Regions from separate parts of the Homo sapiens genome. Here regions 1 and 2 are each linked to region 3. Evidence: promoter capture Hi-C in 16 types of primary human blood cells and fetal thymus (Javierre and others, 2016). All regions are on one chromosome and are shown on one strand. The core of a region is centred on a gene start or on the middle of the fragment in contact, and the rest is flanking DNA. Distances in the headings are between cores, read along the strand shown.

Region 1 (3,586 bases), core at 45-2,544, 200 kb before region 3:
CTACAACAGAGTGAGGCTAAGTTCTTGTACTTTCTTTTCAACCCCCAAGGTCTCACAGATCACTGATGAAATGTACCATATAGACTCTTAGGAATTTTTGCTAAATCCTTTCATTGGATTTTAAAAAGAAAAAAACAAAGAAATGAACAAAACAATAATCTTGAAATTTTCCAGATTAGAACACGTTCTCTCCTAATACATGATTTGGGATTTCTTTTCTTAAGGGACTGCTCTGATCTTAGACAATCAAATCATCAATGTTTTCAATTTTATATTAATGTCTCCTAAGCTAACTCAGCCCTCACATTCATTTATTCAAAAATATTTGTTGAGTGTCTACTGTGGTGCCACGTACCAGAAATACCATGGAGAAATGTTTTCCGTTTTCTACCTGGCATTTTTCCAAGGTCTGTTATCCTTTCAACAGTTCAGTTCAGCACAGAACTTGCATTTTAATTTTCATTACAAACAGCCTGCCCATCTACCACTGGCACATTCTCTAGCATGTCATAAGCAAGTCACATGGCCACATAGTATTGAAACGGGAGACTTCCCTGACTCCCTTTACAGGATATGAGACAGGGGTATGGCTCCCTTGTTCGGTTGCCCACTGCTCAGACCCCTTGTGAGAGGAGGAGCATGCAGATGGGCAGGTGCAGAGGCCAGGGCGAGCACTTTGGGCTCTGGCCCCATGGTAATGTCTAATGGTGGGTGCCTGCAACCTCAGTGTTACAAAGCTCTTTCAGCTTGGCCACCCGCAGACGGCTTGAGTGTTAATCAGCTCAGTGGACCTTCTGCCTTTTCGCAAGGGCAGAGGGCCAGTGTGACAGCTTCCTGTATCCCGAGCTCTTGTCCAGTGTCCCGGAAAAATTGGGTCACACACGGACTGGAAGGATGAATGTGAGGTTTTATTGAGTGGTAGAGGTGGCTTTCAGTGTGGTGGATGGGAAGCTGGAAGGGCGGGGGCTGGGGGATGGAGTGGGAAGGTATCTTCCCCTGGAGTTGGGCCACCCAGCGGCCGGAGGCAAAACTCCTCTTGCACCACCCCCAGCCAAACTCCTCTCAGCATCCAGATGCCCCTACTCTTCTTTCTCTCTGCCGCGTTGTTCCACTGTCGGTCTGCTTGCCTCCTGTGTCCTCACCTGCTGGTCTGCTCTGGAGCTTGGGATTTGGGGTTTATGTGGGTGCAGGATAGGGGATGTGGCGGACCAAAGAGGAGCGCGAAAACAGGAATATTTGTTCTCATTTAGGGCCATGAGTATCCAGGCTTGAGGGTGGGGCCTTTGCCGGGGAACTGCCTTCTTCTACCCAGTATTTCCCTGTCTCCTGTCCATATCAGTATAGTACATACCTACTAGCATCCTTCAATTTGCTATTTCAAATTAATTCCCCAGCGCAAAATAAGCATGTGGAATTCCTTAAAACACATAAAAAAACAAATTTTTGAAATCAGGTTGTAAACTATTGTCATTAATTCCATTTATAATTGTATCAGATAAAATTCTGTTAGTGGTTATTTAAACTTATGTGAAAGTTTAAAAAAAATTTACTTAATGAGTAATATTATTACTTTATGTCACAACCATTGCTTGCTTAACATACAGTTTTTCCTTAAGCTCAAGGTTATCGATCCATTTGATTTTTTTCCTTTCAGCAATGTTCCAATTTTGAAAATGATCTCAAAAATGATTTCTACCCCTTTTAGAAGAAAGAATACAATGGGTTACATTTCTGGTCTGGTAATTCTCTGAGAGTCTTCATGCAAATAATGAGAACTTGCAAAATGGGCAGAGATAAAGAAAAGAAAACTTGAAGTGATTAGCCCCATGGTGCGTCGCTGTTTCTTGAGCTTTTCAAATGCAAGCCACCATTGTTCAGATTAATAAAATTAGCACATTCCATTTTGGCCGTAGAAGCTGGATAAGTAAATTACTTCATACTTTCCATTAAACTCTAATTTAAACACTTTGAAAAGAAAGTATAAAAGGAAATTTTAATAGGTACATTGTTTTCAGATGTCTATATCCTGTTTTTTATTAGTTGATTGGACTTGACCCACATAAAAGTAACATTTAATTTCTCTAAGTCATGTATTAGACATTGGTCAGAGAAAGAAAATGAAGAATAATATGATGGCTTCTTAGCTTTTATTATAACTAAATAGAAAAATATCTGAATACTGGACCACTAAATTAATTTTTAACTTGGTTTACCAAGAGATAACTTAATAACACAAAAGGCTTTACTATAGTGAGTTGCCCTATGGAAGTTAAAAGAGAAGGCAGAAAACTATAAAGGCTATATGACTACATATAGATTATATAACTTGATATTTATTTTCCTGAACTGAGAGTTGATCTTTTTTTATTAGCAATTCTAATCAATTGATTAATCATTGACCAGAGGAAGAAAACTAATAATAAAATATGCTGGTATGAACTAGTTTATTAATAGTGGGGGAAGAGATGTGAATACCTTAGAAAGATATTTAGAAGCTAGAATCATTTAGGCAGGGTGTGAAATTAGAAAGAGATGGAAGAATGAAGGGTGACTCCCAGCAGAAAGCACACTGCAGGAAGACCAAGTCCAGTCAGCAGGGTGTGTTCAACTTGAGTGTAATGAATCTGAGGGACTTGAGGGTTAACCCAGTGGAGATGATTGTTGGGGAATTAAATATGAGTCTGAAATTCAGGTAAAGAAAATGTGTTAATAAGCATGACTTAAATGCTTTAAATGTGTTAACACAAAATCATATATGATCACAGCATAAAGAGGGATGAATTCTGTGAATATCAAAGAAGGCTACAGAGAGAAGTTGGTATTTGAACTTGAAAGATAGATAGGATTCCAGTAGTTGGAGAGAAGAAAGGATATTCCAGCTTAGGGCAATTTCATGTGCCAAGATTCAAAAGCTTGAAAGTGTTTGTATGATCAGGAAATGTCTGGTAGAAGAAAAAGCATAGAATTCATGAAGATAATGAGTATTCATGCCCAAAAGGAAGATCATTGCCTAGTAATATTTTGATCTCATTCTTAAAAATCTTCATTCTATTCTCGAGGGGCAATTGGGATCCATTGAAGATTTTTGAGGAGGAAAGAGCCAGATATTGGAAATAAGATGTTGTAGACAGAAGTAATTGGGTTTGATTGTTGATTTTATTTGTGATTGACACAGAAATACAAATCAAAGATAATACTGAGGCTTCTAAATCGGAAGGGTAGAGTTGATGAAGGTGCAATTAATTAAGAAATAAAGCACCGAGGAGAAGCACACCTGGATGAGGGGACTCTTGAGCTGAGGCATGGTAGACCTCTAAGGTGGCCCTCTGGATGCAGCTCCGGAATCGTGCTAGCGGAGATGGAGATTTGGCAGCCTGGGTCTTCAAAATCAAGATAACTGTAGTTAGAGGAAGGAGTAATGAGAAAAAGGAAGATTAAGGACAGAACCTTAGGGAATATGTACACTTAAGGGAGAGGCAGAGGAAGAGGAACTAGAGGGGAAGGCTCAGTGACCAGAGACACACAAACAAGAACCAGGAGAGGGCAGTATCATAGAAGCCAAGGAAGAATGGTATCACCAAGGGAA
Region 2 (3,532 bases), core at 586-3,085, 230 kb before region 3:
TTAAAATATTTTTCTCTCAATCTACAAAGCTGTTATTTATTATCAGTGTCTTTTTCATCTTGAAAATTATCTTCCTTGTTACGTTACGTGAATAAAGTTGTTGGTGGATTAGTGGGGACTTCATTAATGGGGGAAACATATTAACAGCATAGCACTGTGTTGCTATTAAACAAACCAGAATGCAAGTTGAACAAAAATCTGCTCAGAAGCTCATAATCTAAGAAAGGTTATAGTAATTTAGATCTATAAAAGCATACACAGAGACTCATAAATACATAATGGCATAGCATGAAAAAAAATCTAAACTTTGTGAGCATGAGTGCAAGTATAATAGTTTTATGTGCTATGGAATTTAAAAATTAGTCATGAGAATTGCATCTTCAGAGAGGATATGGCCAGGTTAAAAACAAGTCAGCACTCACTTCCTTTTTGGGAAAACTTCAAGAGGGAAATAAGATTTCCAACACCTTCATACTATGAGGAGGAAGAAGTTGAGGTTCATGGAAGTCAGTGAATCACGTATGTCTCTCCTCCCAGATTTGAAATCAATTGAGAAATATGTATAGCTATCAGGAAGAGAGAAAATAAACACTTTATTGCTGATAAAGCTAAATTGGAGACCACGCCTCAGACCCCAAGTGTCTTCTTATTTTCTTCTACTCTTATCCCAAATAGAACTCAGTGATCCCAGGTGAGTCAGCCTGTGTGAAAGAGAGAGGGGCTGAGCAAGGATCATCAAACAGTTCTCAAAGGAGAAAGACAAGGAGAATAAACCTCATATGCCTGGTGACCCTTTACCCTATCTCACTCATCAGATAAGTCAACAGTCAGCACATTTTCTGTAAAGGGCCAGATAGTAAATATTTTAGGCTTTGAGGCCATGTGGTTTTGGTTCCAACCACTCAACTCTGCTGTTGTTGCATGAGAGCAGCTGTAGACAATATATAAACAAGTGAATGTGGCTGTTGTTATTATTTTACTAGGGTTGCCATAACAAAGTACCACACATTGGGTGGCTTAACCAGTAGAAATTTACTGTCTTACAGTTCTGGAACTAGAAGCCTGAGATCAAGATATGCACAGGGTTGGTTTCTTCTGAGGACTGGGAGGGAGAATCTGTTCCAGGACTCTCTGGTATCTTCTAGTGGTTTGCTGGCAATCTGAGCTTTCAAGAACCTGGGATGAAGCTATGGTTAGAGTGAAAAAACGGCCGAGCGCAGTGGCTCATGCCTGTAATCCCAGTACTTTGAGAGTCCGAGGCAGGTGGATCACCTGAGGTCAGGAGTTCAAAACCAGCCTGCCCAACATGGCGAAACCCCATCTCTACTAAAAATTCAAAAAATTAGCCAGGCGTGATGGCGGGCACCTATAAACCCAACTACTCGGGAGGCTGAGGCAGGAGAATCACTTGAACTCTAGAGGTGGAGTTTGCAGTGAGCCGCAATCACGCCACTGCACTCCAGCCTAAGCGACAAGAGCAAAACTTCGCCTCAAAAAAAAGAAAAAAAGAGTGAAAAAACATAGTAAATTTAAAAAGCACCTGTCTTTGCTCTAAGGACTCTAACACTTCTCTAAGACTCTTAATCTTGAAAGCTTTTAGTTATGCATTTTAACAGTATTTATTACTCCTCATCTTGTAAGAAAAGCAAGACTGATTTGCATTGTAAAATTTTGCTCACATATAATAGGATTTTTAGTGCATGTAGATATCACTTTAATCAGCAGTCCTCTTTTGGCACTTAATCTCCTAAGATTGATCTTAGTCTTTAGTTTCCAGTGGCTTGCTGTGTAACCTTTATTTACAAGATTTTGTGAGTCAACTGTTAATTGGGAAGAGTGGTCTTAAGGGACATGCCACCCACCACACTTTCTTCTGGAATACATTCTCCAAAATCTGCTCAAATACCAAGCCACATTACTAAAAACAGCCTGTGTCTCCTTCCTTATTTCAAAGTCTCCATCCAAATTGTCTTCATGGATTTACAATTAAACAAGTGCCTCTGAGCTTTAATTAATGGCCAATTTTTTTTCTATAAGAGCTGTGAAAAGAGCATTTCTGCATCTTTTATGAAGCTTCTGTTAAAGACTCAATTTTATTACATGGGGCTAGTGTATAAAGAGCTAGGTAATTAGTTATTTTTAAACTTTAGTGATAGAAGCAAGTAATCTCTCCTAATGAAGTATTTCCTTCAATTAAGATAACCATGGTACGGAACTTTTTGATATCCATTTTGCTTTGCCTTTTCAGAAGCTCAGCGACCAGTTTTGTACTTGACTCTAGTGGGGAGACTCCGCCTAGGATTTGCAATACAACTTCCTCTTCCTTCATTTTATTATTTGGATCTTTTAGTTTTTAATTTGCTTTAGTGGTTTCATTACATAGTACCTTTTATTGCAAAGAGACACAAAAAATTTTTAAACGTAAGTAGGATACAAATAATAAATAGTAAATGGTTGGCTCTCATCATCACTTTGTCCAGGGGAATCACCCTCTAATACAGATCTTTGTGACCTTAGCTACCTTTTAATGCCATCTCAGTTTACAGTGATTTTTTTGTTTTCCCTACAGATTTTTAAATCAACAATTCCTGTACTGAAATGTTACATTTGTTAAATAAATAAATATATCTTGGACTGCAGAAATACAGCAACTTTTTTTTTTTTGAGATGGAGTCTTGCTGTGTTGTCCAGGCTGGAGTACAGTGGTGTGATCTTGGCTCACTGCAACCTCCACCCCCCAGGTTCAAGCAATTCTCCTGCCTCAGCCTCCCGAGTAGCTGGGATTACAGGCACACTCCACCATACCTGGCTAATTTTTTGTATTTTGAGTAGAGAAGGAGTTTTGCCATGTTGGCCAGGCTAGCCTCCAACTCTTGGCTAGTCAAGTCATCCGCCCACCTCAGCCTCCCAAAGTGCTGGGATTACAGGCATGAGCCACTGCATCTGGCCAACATCAGCTTTTAAACAGAAAAAAAAAATTTAGGTGTCAGCTCAATTATTTCTCTTTGAAAGAATTTAAATGAAATAGAAATTATTTTAATTAGCTGTTAGGATTATTTGGCTTGTGAACTCAATTTCAATTATTTGGCTTGTGAACTCAGTACACAAAAATGTATTTATTGACTCAAATAATTTGGAAAACCAGGGCTTATCAGTCCAGCTTTAGATATGACTAGATTTAGAAGTTCAAAATAATTTTCTCTGCTTACTAAACTTGAAGTTGGCTGCATTATTGGGCAGGCTCTCCCCACAATGTGGCAAAAATGACCAGCAGCAGTTCCTAGTTTATGTTGTACTGGCAGCTGGAATTTCTAGTAAAAATAAAAATAAAAAGTCAATTTTTCAATAGCTCCAACAGAAGACCCAGGGAGAGCTTTTATTGTCCTGGCTTTGGTCATGTGATCATCCCTGGATGTAATCACCATGAATGAAGAAATCCAGTACTTTATTGGCCAGGTTTCCATGATAGCAGCCCTAGAGCCAGGAGTTCTAGAGCCCCACCTAAAGAACTTGGACTCAGAATGGGAAAAAG
Region 3 (3,727 bases), core at 855-3,354:
CATGCTCCCCTCTTCTTTCTCTCTCCACCCTCCTTCCATTCTCTTCCAGTAAAAAAGTGATAACCACCAAGTGTCTGCCTTGAACAAAAAGTTATGACACAGATGCTCCCAGTGTTGGACCATCAAGCCGAAAGCACGTGCACAAAGCAGCTGATGCAAGCACCTTAATTGGACGGCCACCGGTGCGGACTGAGCTGGGCTCATGAACCTTCCAGGCAGCCAACTTTGCAATATGGTGCTCGACCTTTCTCCATTCGAGCTTCTGCCGAGCAGTTCCTTAGGTCTCAGATCCCTTTCACCTTCCACAGACGATGCTATGGAACAGAAAAACTGCTGCTCAAATCCTAAATAAGAATGGAAAGTGCACAGTATGGCCCCATAGATCTTTCTTTCCCTTCCTGCCATGAAGCCAACCTGAAAACAAAGACATGATGACTCTTGTGTAACCACCCGAAGAGGCTGACAATTACCAACTACGTGAGGTAGTAGGCAATTGTCACATGCTGGGCTGCAGAGATCGTGCTTAACTTGTTTATTCTCATAGCGGGACAGTTATACAAGACGAGCTGCTTCTCAGAATCAGGCTAGCAACAATTCCCTCAGGGAAAGTTGTTAAGGCTTATGGGCCTCGGAGAGCCAGAGTAAGAAGAATCAAAGTCCTAATTTAAATCCTGTTAAACTTTTAATTTGGAAATAATGTAGAAATAATTTCTCATTATTAGACTATAAATTCCCAGCCAGGCTATGTTTCCGTCAGCCAAATGTAGAAGCAACTTGGTCATATACTTTTTGTATCAAAGAACTTTATTCTTTCAGCCCCAGGCTCAGAATTTGATAACATGTTTTCTGTGGACTTTTTCTCTTCACATCAAACAATGTTAAAGAAGAAAAACAGGGAAAATTATAATGACATATACATATATGTCACTCAGTGTGTGTATGTATATATATACACACATATATACACATATATATACACACATATATATATACACGTATATATATACACACACACTCAGATATGGCCAAACTGAATTACTAGCAGTTTGCTTAAACCATATACTCTGGTTCTGGATCTGCACACATGGGTACCTACAGTCTCTTGCAAAGCCCTCCCCAGCCTCTGCCTATCAGAATTCCCCCCATTTTAAAAAGCCTATCCAAATGTCTCTTTCTCTATCTGGCTTGCAATCATCACCCCAGTCAAAAATAATATTGCTCACCTAGCATTGTGTTTGCGTCCTTTTTGAGACATATATATGGCCTCATGTTAGAAGCTTTTGTATAACTTCTCAATGGGTCCTTAGCAGGTTGATGACAGTATCTTTGAAGTACCTTTGCAACTTCTGCAGTGATTCTTGTCTTAAATGATTCAGTGTCTTAAATGTGATAGGCACCTTCTAAGTATTTTACCTCTAGGTGATTAAAAATTGGGGAAGTAGAGAAATCAAAGAGGAAAGGATGCTTAATACGTAACGCGTGTGTACTTTGCCTCTCTGAGTCTTATCTGTAAGAGCCCTCCAATTCCCATCACGTGAGGGTCAGGATCTGTGGTGTATTCACTCCTGGTGTTAAAGCCCTTGAAGTTTATTTTTCACTGGAAAAGTTTTTATTTGAGTTGTTTCTTGATAATGAAGGTGGTGGCTTACGCTCAGCTGTTGATGCTTGTTTGAAGTAGTTTTTTTTTGTTGTGTTGTGTTTTTTAAATTTAAGAGATTTATCAGGTCCATCTTTTACCTGGCTGCTGCTGCCCTGTAGAAAGCGAAGGAGCTTTCTCTAACTTTGACAGGCTGAAAAGTTTCCTGAGCCCTGGACTTGTTTGTCTTCTACTTGTTTTGCCCTTCCCTCTCTCTTTTTCTTTCGACTCCTTTAGTGAGGGCTGCTTTTGGGTGCTTCGTCAGCTCTGAGGCACGTCAAATACGTGTATTTTGCTTTCAGCGTTGTGTGAGGGACCCTGGCGGCTGGAACTGCCTCTGGTCGGGGCTTAGGGCTGACTGCAAACGTTCCCATTTTCCTCTCTTCCTCTCATTGGTTCCCGAGGTCACGTGAGGGCCCCGGGGGTTGGAATTCTGAGTTGTGGCTTTGGCACTCCTCTTTCTTTTTAAAAATCGCTGGGTCTGTTGAGCTGTCCTGGGCTGGGTGCCTTGCTCTTTGACTGAGACTGGAGACAGACGGCAACAGCCACAGGCAGACTGAGGTGGCAATAGGAAATCTGCCGAGATGTTCAGTCAGGTGCCCAGGACCCCAGCCTCAGGCTGCTACTACCTAAATTCCATGACACCTGAGGGCCAGGAGATGTACTTGCGATTTGATCAGACTACAAGACGCTCTCCTTACAGGATGAGCCGGATTCTAGCACGCCATCAGCTAGTGACTAAAATTCAACAAGGTGAGTGGCCGGCAGTGGAAGGCTGTTGCTCATTCTGATTTCTGTTGGCTCTATTTCATGCTAACCCAGTTTTTTTTGTTTGTTTGTTTCCACTTTATAACATATGGATTTCTATGCCACACTACCCGTAACTTTGAAAAATAACTTTAGGCTGCAGTTTTCAGCAAACAGGACAGTCCTTAGCTGCCACATAGCTCAACATAAAGTGCACAAAAAACTTCACGGTGGGACAGTGAATCATAAATTCCCAAACTGACGTGTGTCTACAGAACAGATGAGAACTGTTACTCAGTGTGTATCTTAGGAGCTTTTCTGCAGTTTCCTCACACTCCGTCACATTTAAAATGTGGACACTTGTTTATTTCATTAGGGAGGAGGCGAGGGACTAATGTCCACCCTGCCCAGAGTATTTCGAATATCCTTAGTGAAGAGGAGGAAAGCAAGAATTCTGTTCTAAAGGCCACCAGGCTAAGCACTAGAATCGCATTCTCTTCCTGTTTGTATGTTTATGTCAGCAGTTGCCACAGATGTGTTAATATTGTTTTCCTGGTAGAGAATTAAGGTGTTCGTTCATCTCAAAACAAATCCCGTAACCTGCACACAAAACTCCAGCTTCCTAATGCAAAGAGAAGAGAATATTGATTATAAGCTGCTTGATATTCTTTTTATTCCCAGCCCCTCAAAATACCAGCCTGGAAGTCTGGACATTACTAAAATTTACCAGTCTCAAAAAAAAAAAAAATTTAAAACATGCTCCTTATAGGGTATATCAGTAGAAAGCAGAAAGACGAACATTCCTAAGAAGCCCCTAACACACACGTTTACAGTCAGTTAATGATCACCCTCCTCCTAGACTACAAAAAAGAAATTATTATATTGGTGCTAAATAAGTTAACCAGGAATTTTTAGAGCCGTTCCTAAGAAGCCCCTAACACACGTTGACAGTCAGTTAATGATCACCCTCCTCCTACACAACAAAAAAAGAAATTATTATATTGGTGCTAAATAAGTTAACCAGGAATTTTTAGAGCCATTATAAAAATACAGTTTCCACTTAAATAAATGAGTTTAAGATTATATTGAATATTAAAGAGGAAGTTGGGGTTTGTAATCATGAAAATCTTATTGTAATGTTTCCAGAAAGAACAATATGTATTCTAGCGGGCAGCATTTGATGAGATTGTTTCCTTGGAAATTAGGATTTGTTTGTAAAGGTTCAGGAACTAGTTATGTGTGAAGGATGCTGGTCCTTCCTACATGCTGGTCTGATTTCAGGAAGGATATTATGTCATTGCATAAACTCTGTGTCCAGGTCTTGATTGAATAGAAACAAAAGTA

The links. Contacts are between HindIII fragments. The CHiCAGO score rates a contact against its expected background, and 5 or more counts as called.
Region 1: a fragment that was not itself captured here is called in contact with the fragment with the promoter of STARD13 in region 3 in 2 of 17 cell types (endothelial precursors and megakaryocytes); the score reaches 6.6 in endothelial precursors.
Region 2: a fragment that was not itself captured here is called in contact with the fragment with the promoter of STARD13 in region 3 in 1 of 17 cell types (endothelial precursors); the score reaches 6.5 in endothelial precursors.

The regions. Positions count from the first base shown.
Region 1 is chr13:33,488,002-33,491,587 of GRCh38, reverse strand. It overlaps a transcript of STARD13 not described here. Among named protein-coding and RNA genes, the nearest start is that of LINC02344, 150 kb to the right of the region's middle. RefSeq lists an enhancer at 1,528-2,104. The HindIII fragment of the contact is 3,241 bases long and covers 1-2,914 here.
Region 2 is chr13:33,510,445-33,513,976 of GRCh38, reverse strand. It overlaps a transcript of STARD13 not described here. Among named protein-coding and RNA genes, the nearest start is that of LINC02344, 180 kb to the right of the region's middle. The HindIII fragment of the contact is 480 bases long and covers 1,596-2,075 here.
Region 3 is chr13:33,284,132-33,287,858 of GRCh38, reverse strand. STARD13 (StAR related lipid transfer domain containing 13) reads left to right here and starts at 2,104. Exons shown (of 14, transcript NM_178006.4): 1 at 2,104-2,389. The coding sequence starts at 2,221. RefSeq lists enhancers at 1,802-1,931, 1,942-2,001. The HindIII fragment of the contact is 3,531 bases long and covers 1,280-3,727 here.